Linked DNA regions of Homo sapiens: region 2 is linked to region 1. The links are contacts of gene promoters, found by promoter capture Hi-C in blood cells and fetal thymus (Javierre and others, 2016). All regions are on one chromosome and are shown on one strand. The core of a region is centred on a gene start or on the middle of the fragment in contact, and the rest is flanking DNA. Distances in the headings are between cores, read along the strand shown.

Evidence for each region. The method cuts DNA at HindIII sites, captures the fragments that hold promoters and counts their contacts. A CHiCAGO score of 5 or more calls a contact.
Region 2: a contact is called between a fragment that was not itself captured here and the fragment with the promoter of LCA5L in region 1, in 1 of 17 cell types (naive CD8 T cells). The highest score is 6.0, in naive CD8 T cells.

The regions. Positions count from the first base shown.
Region 1 is chr21:39,442,364-39,447,530 of GRCh38, reverse strand. LCA5L (lebercilin LCA5 like) reads left to right here and starts at 1,753. Exons shown (of 11, transcript NM_152505.4): 1 at 1,753-1,806; 2 at 3,330-3,396. All of the region lies in intron 8 of GET1-SH3BGR (GET1-SH3BGR readthrough), which reads right to left. MIR6508 (microRNA 6508) reads right to left here and starts at 521; the gene lies at 462-521. It also overlaps a transcript of SH3BGR not described here. RefSeq lists a silencer at 1,583-1,842. The HindIII fragment of the contact is 3,319 bases long and covers 659-3,977 here.
Region 2 is chr21:38,830,026-38,834,857 of GRCh38, reverse strand. No RefSeq gene overlaps it. Among named protein-coding and RNA genes, the nearest start is that of ETS2, 27 kb to the right of the region's middle. RefSeq lists enhancers at 3,139-3,328, 2,318-3,517. The HindIII fragment of the contact is 9,742 bases long and covers 1-4,832 here.

The DNA of each region.
Region 1 (5,167 bases), core at 504-3,003:
TGCAGGAGAATCACCTGAACCCAGGAAGCGGAGGTTGTGGTGAGCTGGGATGGCGCCACTGCATTCCAGCCTGAGCGATAGAGTGATACGTCTCAAAAAAAAAAAAAAAAAAAAGCAAAAGCGAAAGCAAAGAAAGATTCAAGGGCAGATTTGCAGTGACTTATCATGTCTACAGACTGGGAAAAGCTGGTAGAAAAGAGGAGGAAACCATTCTCAGGAAACTCTACCTTTCAATTCCTCCAGTCATGAGCTCCAGGGTTGGATGCTCCCGCAATGGCAAAACTCCGCTCTCGTTACTGTCATGGGGCCACCACCACCCACCAAGCATCAGCCCATCTTTCCATAATGTCAAGTCTAGAGTGACATTTGTCTAATGTTTGCCTACCTGGAGATGTTGCCCCGCCCACCACCACCAGCAAAAACAACCGGCACCCATCTTATACGGATAATTCCCTACCTAAGGAGTTCTAGAAATGCATGGCCCACCAAAACTCAGGGTGGGTCATGCATTTCTAGAGGAAGAAATGGTGATATGGAGAGAAAGCTTGTCCTAACCCACTTCTACCAAAGTAGGATTAAAGTCAATTTGAAAAAAAACACCCGTTTCTCCTTTTATATAAAAACCAAATGCAGAAACTATAGAGAAATGTAATAAGCTTGACTCTACACAAATACCAAAATACACTGTAAACAAAATTAAAGGTAACTGACAAATTGAGGAAATATTTGCAACGTATATCACAAGCCAAGTTTTCAAGCATCAAAAGTCCTTACAAAACCCATTTTTACAAAGATGAATGTCAAGTTTTAAAATGGACAAAAGACAGGAAAATGCAAATCACACAATAAGGACAAATGGCACTCAAGATATGGGAAAAAGTCTATTCTTCCTACTAAAAAGGAAGTGAATACAATTAAAGATGCCAATTTTTGACAATAAAATGGGCAAAAAAATTTTAAGAAAAAAGAGAATTTCCAATGCGGGCCAAGTATCGGGACACTTACTGGAAGGCAGTTTCCCTCTACCTTTAGAAAGCCTCAAAGTGAGCATATGCTTTGGCCCTGCAACCTCGCTTGTAGGAATTTATCCTAAGGAAACAGTCAGGGGTGACCTCAAAGATTCATCTGCAAGGATATTCAACATGGCTTTGATGCAGGAAAAAAAGTAAATAAATAAAAGGAAACAATGTAAGTCTTCCTAAATTATGCCAAATTCCTATGCTGTCATTAAAAAACATCTATAACTCCATCATCTAGGTGATTTTGACTTTTGCTTTGGACTTGCCTGTACATTTCTAAATTCTCTATGCCAAACATGCATTGTTTTGTCATCAGATTTTGTTTTACAAAAAAAAAAAAAAAATCGTCTTTATGACAAGGGGTTAATAGGGGAACTGTGCTTCCCAGGAATTGACCAGGCGTCTACACCCACCTACTGACTCAAGTTACCTAAGACTGACAGAGCCTTAAGAGGTCAGGAGAGCGCCAGAGCGCGTGACAGGCTCCCTCGTCTCGGTGCGGCCACGCGGGAAGGCAGGGTCCCGGGCGCCGAACAGGGACGGCAGGAGGATCGTTTACAGACGTCTACACAAGAAACTCACTTCCCGTCACCGAAGACAAACGCGAGGCCACACTGACCTCCAGGCCCAAGACGCCCCTCCCCGCCGCGGCTCCTGCTGCCCGAGTGCGCATGCGCGCGCCCAGCCCCCGCAGGCCGGCGCTTCCCAGGAGGCCCCGCGCGCGGGTTTCCATGGGGACGCGCCGGCGCTGCGGCGTTGGCGCAGTCGTGGGAACAGCGCGGAGCAGGTAACGGCCCCGCTGCTGCCGTCGTCCCCCTCAGCCGGTTACCCTGTTACAGCCCCAGCTCTGGGCCCTTCCGGACCCTCCTGCTACGCTCTTTCTGGGCTTCCAGTATCGCCGGTCACTCAGTCCTCGCCCCTGCCTGCCTCGCTGGCGCCCCGCCGTTTCCTCCTCGCGGCACAGTTTGCCAAGGAACAGCTACCCCGGCTCGGCAGTGACCGGGCGCCCCGGCGACACACGTACTCTCAGGCCCGCTGGGCAGGGGGACGGCCTGGGCCGAGGTGACCTAGCGCTCCCGGGGCCGCGCCTGGGTCTGGCGAGGGGGCGGAGGCCGATCTCACCGCCGCCCCACCGAGGGAACTTTGGGGTTTTTCTATCTGAATCTTCTATCTGACCTCCGATTTTGCCTCTGCTTACTTGCTGTTTTGCTTTGGATTAGTTTTTCTTTCTAACCTTAGCGCTGGCATCTCCCTATCTCGTAGGAATCTAAATCTTTTGAAATGTCTTCTCTGTCTGTGTTTGTCCCCCACTCACCCAGCCTCGGGGCTCTTTATCCACACCCTCCCCTCAGCGTGTTAACGTTTCGTTGCCACACTTAAGCCAACGGTTAACTTTTTTCAGAGACCAGTTTTCACGGCTGAATGTGAGCTTGAGCCTTTTTTCTGTCTACACTCAATCCCTAGATGAACTCATCCAGTCGCCTGTACTCAGAGCCTATCTGAATTCCAGTGAGCCCCAAGTGTGCATTCCCAGCCCTCGCCCCTCCCCTGAACACCAGATCCCTGCATTTAGCTGCCTGCCACATCCCTACTTGGATGTCTACGGCATCTCAAACACAGCTCGTCCAAGATAGCGCTCAATAATTCCCCAAGCCAAGCCTGTCCTCCCACAATCTTAATCCATCATAGTTGCTGGAAATTCCATCCTCCAGTTGCCCGAGTCTTGCATCCTGTTTGAGTCCTGTTTTTCTCTTCCTCACCTTCAGTCTGTCAGCACTGCCTTCAAAATGCACCCAGAATAGATTCACAATTCTACCATTTCTCTCAACCGCCACTGTCACCACCTTGGTCCAGGCCCCCATCATCTGGTGCGTGGATTATTTTACTTGCTTCCTAATTGGTTTCCCTGAGTCTGCCCCTCCCCCACTTGAGCATGACAGTCTTAATGGTATTTCCCCGTTCTCTGTTATTTCGTATGAGTAAGTTTTTTAAAGGATTATATAAATTACAATTTCCTTATATAAATTACAACTTCCATAGGTAAAAGTGCAGTATTTTCAGTATGTATTTTGCAAATTGCAACTTTTAAACCGGGTCAGCAAGGCCATATAAGCATCCTGCTAACAAGCTAAAAATGTAAAGACACCCCTTAGCTTTGTTAGGTATAAATATGACAGTGCCCCTGGAACAGAACTATGGCAAGAGCTTTACAAGGGACTGTCCTGAAGAACAAAAGAACCCAGAGCCTTCTTCCCAGCGCAAAGACAGGAATCATGTAGGAGTTTAAGCTCTTCCTTTTTTATTTTTTAGAGAAGCACCAAAAGAGGCAAACTGAGATGCAGACAAATGATCATCCGTATGCTGATCATTTTGAATAGTAAGTACCTGGGTGCTGATACCGCGATCAATGTGACAGGTCCCTGCCCTCAAGGAGCTAAGGCCCCTAGCCAATCTCTCTTTTTTTGTTGTTTTTTTTTTTTTTAAGACAGAGCCTTACTCTGTCGGCCAGGCTGGAGTGCAGTGGCAAGATCTCGGCTCACTGCAACCTCCATCTCTGGGCTCAAGCAATTCTCCTGCCTCGGCCTGAGTAGCTGGGATTACAGGTGTACGCCACCATGCCCAGCTAATTTTTGTATTTTTAGTAGAGATGGGGTTTCACCATGTTGGCCAGGCTGGTCTCAAACTCCTGACCTCAGGTAATCTGCCTGCCTCGGCCTTCCAAAGTGCTGGGATTAAAGGCGTGAGCCACTGCGCCCGGCCCTACCCTTGCCACTCTCTTAAACTCCTAGCCCCATCTTTTCTCTTTTGCCATCAGGTAAAACCCCAATTAACCAAAGTAACAGAGTAGGATTGCCACGGTTAGCTGAGGGTCTGTAGGAGATTGCATTTCATAAATGACCATTTTCCTCAGATTTGATCTCCCACCACGCCCTTGTGCTGTCACTTCATAGAGAAGCTTGAAGCTGTCACATGGGAATCCCCTCATTCTTCAGCTCCCAAAACTGCAAGCCTTACTTATATCTGTTCCTACCTTCCTTCCTCCTCCTAACCAAGGCCACTCCCTCTCCGTGCTTTGGATCCCATCGCTTTCCACTCGCCAAAAACTCTACCCTGTCAGGTATACATTCCCTCTCCTGTATGATCACCTGTTCCATCTCAGCTGGCTCTTTGCCATGGTTTTGAAGCATGTTCAAGTCTCCCATCACAAAAGAGAAAAAAAGAATCTTCTTTGACCCCACGTTCCCCTTCAGTTTCCAGTTATTGTCCAATCCCTTATCCCTTTCGACAGGCAAACTTTAAAGAACTGCCATATTCAATGCCTCTATTATTTGTCTCTCACTCCTCAGCCAGTATGGCTTCCCTCTTCATCTCTGCTAAAACAAAAACCAGGAATGAGACTTTTTCAGGCTTTGTCTTGCTCAATCTCTCAGCGGCATCTGAAACTGCTGCCCCCATTTCACTCTACAAACACTGTCTTCCCTTGGCTTCTGTGACCATCCCTGACTCTTCTGCTTTTCCTGCTGCCATTCTGGCTCACCCTCCTCTCCCAGGCTCCTTAATATTGGAGATTCTCAAAGCTCGGCATCTGTTCCCATTTTATTCTCCATTGCGCCCCTTCATCTAGCACAAGGCACAGATTCACACGCACAGCTTTTAAGTTCCAGCCCTGTGCTCTTGACTCCTACCTTTCTCCAACTTGACCCTTTCTCAGCTAGACTCGTACGTTCAGCTAGCTGCGTGACAGTGTTTCTTAATACCACTCAGTCTCCTCCAATTCAACATGCACAAAACCAAACAACCCCACTTCCCAACCCCAGCTGGAACCTCTTCCGTTGTACCTAGGATTCCTCCTTGACCCTTATCACACCCCAACACCCAGTGAATCCTTAAGCCCAGGTGAGGTTGTCTCCTGGGCATCTTTCACATCTCTTCATTGTCGTGGACACCCAAGTGCAAACCACCACCTTCATTCAGCCTGCCGCAGTCCTGTACCAGCTTGTCTCCCCACATTCCCTCTGGCTTTTCTCGATTCTTCACCCTGCAGCCAGAGTAACCTTCAGAAGGCAGAGCTGATTATGCCACCCCTCCCGCCTCCCTCTTTTGCCTACAGTTAGCTTCCCATTGCCCTTGGATTAATGATCCACATC
Region 2 (4,832 bases), core at 2,214-4,713, 610 kb after region 1:
GGAGGCAGCCAGGTTCTACAAACAGTGTCCCTGACTTTGCTCTGCTCACTGCACAAATAATAATATACTAATGAAAAAAAAAAATGAAAGAGAACACAAACAAATGGAAAGACATCCCATGCTCATGGATTGAAAGAATTAATATAATCAAAATGACCATACTGCCCAAAGCAATCTACAGATTCAATGAAATCCCTATCAAAATACCAACATCATTTTTTCCCACAGAAATAGAAAAAACAGTATAAAAGAGTCTGAAAGGCCAAAGCAATTCTGAGAAAAAAGAAAAAGGCATTACACTATCTGACTTTAAAATATACTACAAGGCTATTGGTAACCCAAATAGCATGGTATTGGCATAAAAATAGACACATAGTCCAATGGAATAGACAAACCAAAAATAAATCCACATACTTGCAGTCAATTGATTTTCCATAAAAGAATGAAGAGCATGCAATGGGAAAAAGACACCCTCTTCAATAAATGATGCTGGGAAAATTAGATACTCACACATAGATGCATGAAACTGAACCTTTATCTCTTACCATGTACACAAATCAACCCAAGGTGAATTAAAAACTTGAGCATAAGACCTGAAAACATAAACTGGTAGAAGAAAACATAGCAAAAACACTTCAGGACATTGCGCTAGGCGAACAATTTATGGCTAAGACCTCAAAAACACAGGCAACAAAAACAGAAATAGAGAAATGAGACTATATTAAACTAAAATGCTTCTGCACAGCAAAGGAAACAATCTACAAAGGGAAGAGATGCCCTTTTGGATGGGAGAAAATATCTGCAAACTATTCATTTGGACAAGGAACTAATATCCAGAATATACAAAAACCTCAACAAAGTCAACAGTCAAAACAACAACAAATAATAATAATCCCATTAAAAAGTGGTCAAAACATGAATACACACTTATCAAAAGAAGACATATGACATACACACATATCAAAAGACGGGGACACACGGTTGATGGAAGTAAAAATCAGTGCAGCCACTACGAAAAACAGGATGAAGATTTCTCAAAGAAGTAAAAATAGAACTACCATGTAACTTATTTAGTGTTGAGGTGTATATGGGCTGTATTGTGTGCCCTCAAATTGATATGTTGAAGTCCTAACCCCCAGAACCTCAAAATGACACTGTCTTTGGAGGTAGGTTACTTACAGAGGTAATTGAGTTAAAATGAAATAATTAGATCTGGCCCTAATACAATATGACTGGTATCCTTATAAAAAGGGGGAATTTGGACACAGAGAGGGGCAAGGAGGGAAAGTGACATGAAGAGACACAGGGAGAAGATGATCATCTACCAGCCAATGGGAGAGAGGGCTGGAGCCAGCTCTTTCCTCACTGCACTTAAAAGGAACCAACCTTATAGACACCATGATCTTGGATTTCTAGCCTCCAGAACTGTGAAAGGATACATTTCTGTTGCTTTAAACCACCCACTTTGTGACACTTTGTTATAGTAGGTAGTCCTGGGGCATTGATACAGGAGACAGGGCATGGGAGGTGATGACCACCAGGAGGAGCAGAGACAGAAAAGGTGAAGCAAGCAAAAGGAGTGGGGTGTGTGTGTGTGTGTGCATGCGTGCACATATGCACATGTGTGTTAGTGTATAAGTGTGCGTGTGTGTGTGCATGTGAATACCTGTGTGCACACACGCACATGTGTGTATACATATGTATGTCTATGTGTGTCTCTGGAAGTGTGACTGCACACATGTATGTGCAAGTGGGTTGTGTGTGTGCATGTGTGTTCTTGGGATCCTGAACTGTCTTAATCCCAACTGAAGGGCTGATTTACAGAGACACTTAAGCACATGTGACCCCGGCCCCCATCACAGTGTTGGGTAGGGTGATGCCCTGTGGCCTCTTGTTGTGATACAATTGCTGACATGCAGCGATCAGGAGCAACTGGTTATTTTGGCTCCACCCACAGACATAGTTGAAGTGCTGGGCTCCACACTTCTCACTTTAGGGAGACTCCTATACCATTGCCTCTTTCCTCCAGGGCTCCTTCACTAGGAAGTGGCTTCCAGAAAGCGTGGGCAGCCTGGCTTCCAGTGATCTGCAGATTCCCAGAGGCTGATATTGAACCATGGTTGGGATTTGCTCTGGGGTCCATACATAGCTTGAGAAAACAGAAGCCCCAAGGTATGCAAATTTGACCCAAAATACAAGTCTGATTCCTGAGGACCTGAGAATTAGAAATGAGATGCTAATTCCTTAGGATGAGCTTCATCCAGAGGGTGGGAAGGCGTGGAGCACCTGCAGCACTATTGACAACTACTAGGGTCAACAGGAAGCCAAAGGAGGGTACCCTGTGAGGGAACATCCGGCCACTCAGCTGAGCTCCAGCCCTCTGAGCCCTCCCCTATTCCCAAGCCACAGTCTGCATCTCAGGCACAAGGAATCAGGGACCACGGATGAGTCAGGATAAGCCTCTCCAATTTCTTTTTAGGGGGTTCACCTCTCCGAGCTTCAGTTTCCACATCTGTAAAATGGGCATAATAAAACCAATCTCCCAGGGTCACAGGGAGGTGTAAGTGAGATGACAGATGAAAGTGAGCTTTGAAAATGGCGCCATATTTCCCAATTAACTAATTACATGCTTACACTGCAATGAAAAATAACCTCTTCCAGAACCAAATTGGGTGGAGTTTACCAGCAAATCATAAAAGTGTTTCTCATCAGAGCTTTACAGGCTACAGCAGACAGGCAATCTTTTTTGCTTAAGAGCTCATTTTTTTGTTTACTTATCTTCGTTTGCTCCCACCTCCACTTTCTTTCCTCCAACCAACCCACCTTCCTCCGGGCCACAGTCTTTGCTGGATCTGTGCTTCTGACCTTATGCCACTCAAACATACATGTGTGCTGAGCCCCAGGTCTATGTCTGGACAGTATGAAGCCATAGACACAGAAACAGCTAGCAAGAGTCAGATGTGGTAATCCCAGGCAGTTTTGCCATCTGAACATGACTTTGAGAAATGGGGAGGGGGCAGTTACTCATAGTACATGGAACAGAGGTCATGTCCATTCCAGTTGCCAAGATGTCATCACCTCAGCTATGACCAAAAATGGTCTTTCCCCTAATGTTAAATTTCAAGCAGAAGTCACATGTCCAGACTCCGCCCAGGAGTTACAAAAGAGTTGCACAATAAGGGGTTTCCCCCTGCACTGCTTCAAGACTCACCCTTCTGTTTTGCTGTTACAGAAAAGACAGATTAATATCTGGCCCAGATTATGAGATTCTTGCATCTGTTCGAACTCAGCTAGCTGCCAGCAGCTGCTGTAAATGAGGGCTGTGTGTTCTTTGGGTAGGAGGTTCCTGATAATTTAAAATTCAAATCAAGGGCTGTGGCCTCTGGTTTGTGGAAGGAGGAACTAGAAACTTGAAGGAGCCCTAGGTAGCATCTGGGGCAGCATTTATAATGACTTCAACCAAACATGACAGGGTTATTTTGGCCAGAGGACAACACCAGAAAACAGAAGACCAGGGTTTGAGTCTTGGTTCAGTTAAGTACTTGTTTCATCACTGAACTCTGCCCCTGGATTTCTTCTGATGAAAATGGAGACATGATTGTCTGGGATCCATATTTTCTTTGCAGATCCCCTGGCTCAAACACACCTTCCTTGGCGTGCTCTGTTCAAATAGCACCCCCATCCCAGGTTACTGACTTTACACAATCTTATACCCCCAATAGATCAATCCCCCCAACAGCCACAAATGACCTGGCTTTATGGAGGGGAAACTGAGGCAGAGAGTGATTAAATTGCATACCCAAGGTCACAAATAGTGCCTGACAGACCCAGTGACAGTGATAATCCAAGGTCCATCTCCAAATCACAACAAATCCTCCTGTTAACTTGCTTGATATTTCAGGAGAGGTGATGGGGCAGCTTGCTCCCTCTACCTCTTGCCACAGTTCCTGCTCCACTTCCTCTGGCCCTCAAGCCCTGTGCTCCCGCCCAGCAGCCCCATTAAAGCCTGAATCATTCCCAGTGACAAGTGTCCACCATGTGGAGTTCTGGAGCCCTATCAGGAAAGAAAGCTGGTAGGGTGTTATTTCTGAGGGCTCTGTTCTGTTCCATTGATCTATATCTCTGTTTTGGTACCAGTATCATGCTGTTTTGGTTACTGTAGCCTTGTAGTGTAGTTTGAAGTCAGGTAGTGTGATGCCTCCAGCTTTGTTCTTTTGGCTTAGGATTGACTTGGTGATGCGGGCTCTTTTTTGGTTCCATATGAACTTTAAAGTAGTTTTTTCCAATTCTGTGAAGAAAGGCATTGGTAGCTTGATGGGGATGGCATTGAATCTGTAAATTACCTTGGGCAGTATGGCCATTTTCACGATATTGATTCTTCCTACCCATGAGCATGGAATGTTCTTCCATTTGTTTGTATCCTCTTTTATTTCCTTGAGCAGCGGTTTGTAGTTCTCCTTGAAGAGGTCCTTCACATCCCTTATAAGTTGGATTCCTAGGTATTTTATTCTCTTTGAAGCAATTGTGAATGGGAGTTCACTCATGATTTGGCTCTCTGTTTGTCTGTTGTTGGTGTATAGGAATGCTTGTGATTTTTGCACATTGATTTTGTATCCTGAGACTTTGCTGAAGTTGCTTCTCAGCTTAAGGAGATTTTGGGCTGAGACAATGGGGTTTTCTGGATATACAGTCATGTCATCTGCAAACAGGGACAATTTGACTTCCTCTTTTCCTAATTGAATACCCTTTATTTCCTTCTCCTGCCTAATTGCCCTGGCCAGAACTTCCAACACTATGTTGAATAGGAGTGGTGAGAGAGGGCATCCCTGTCT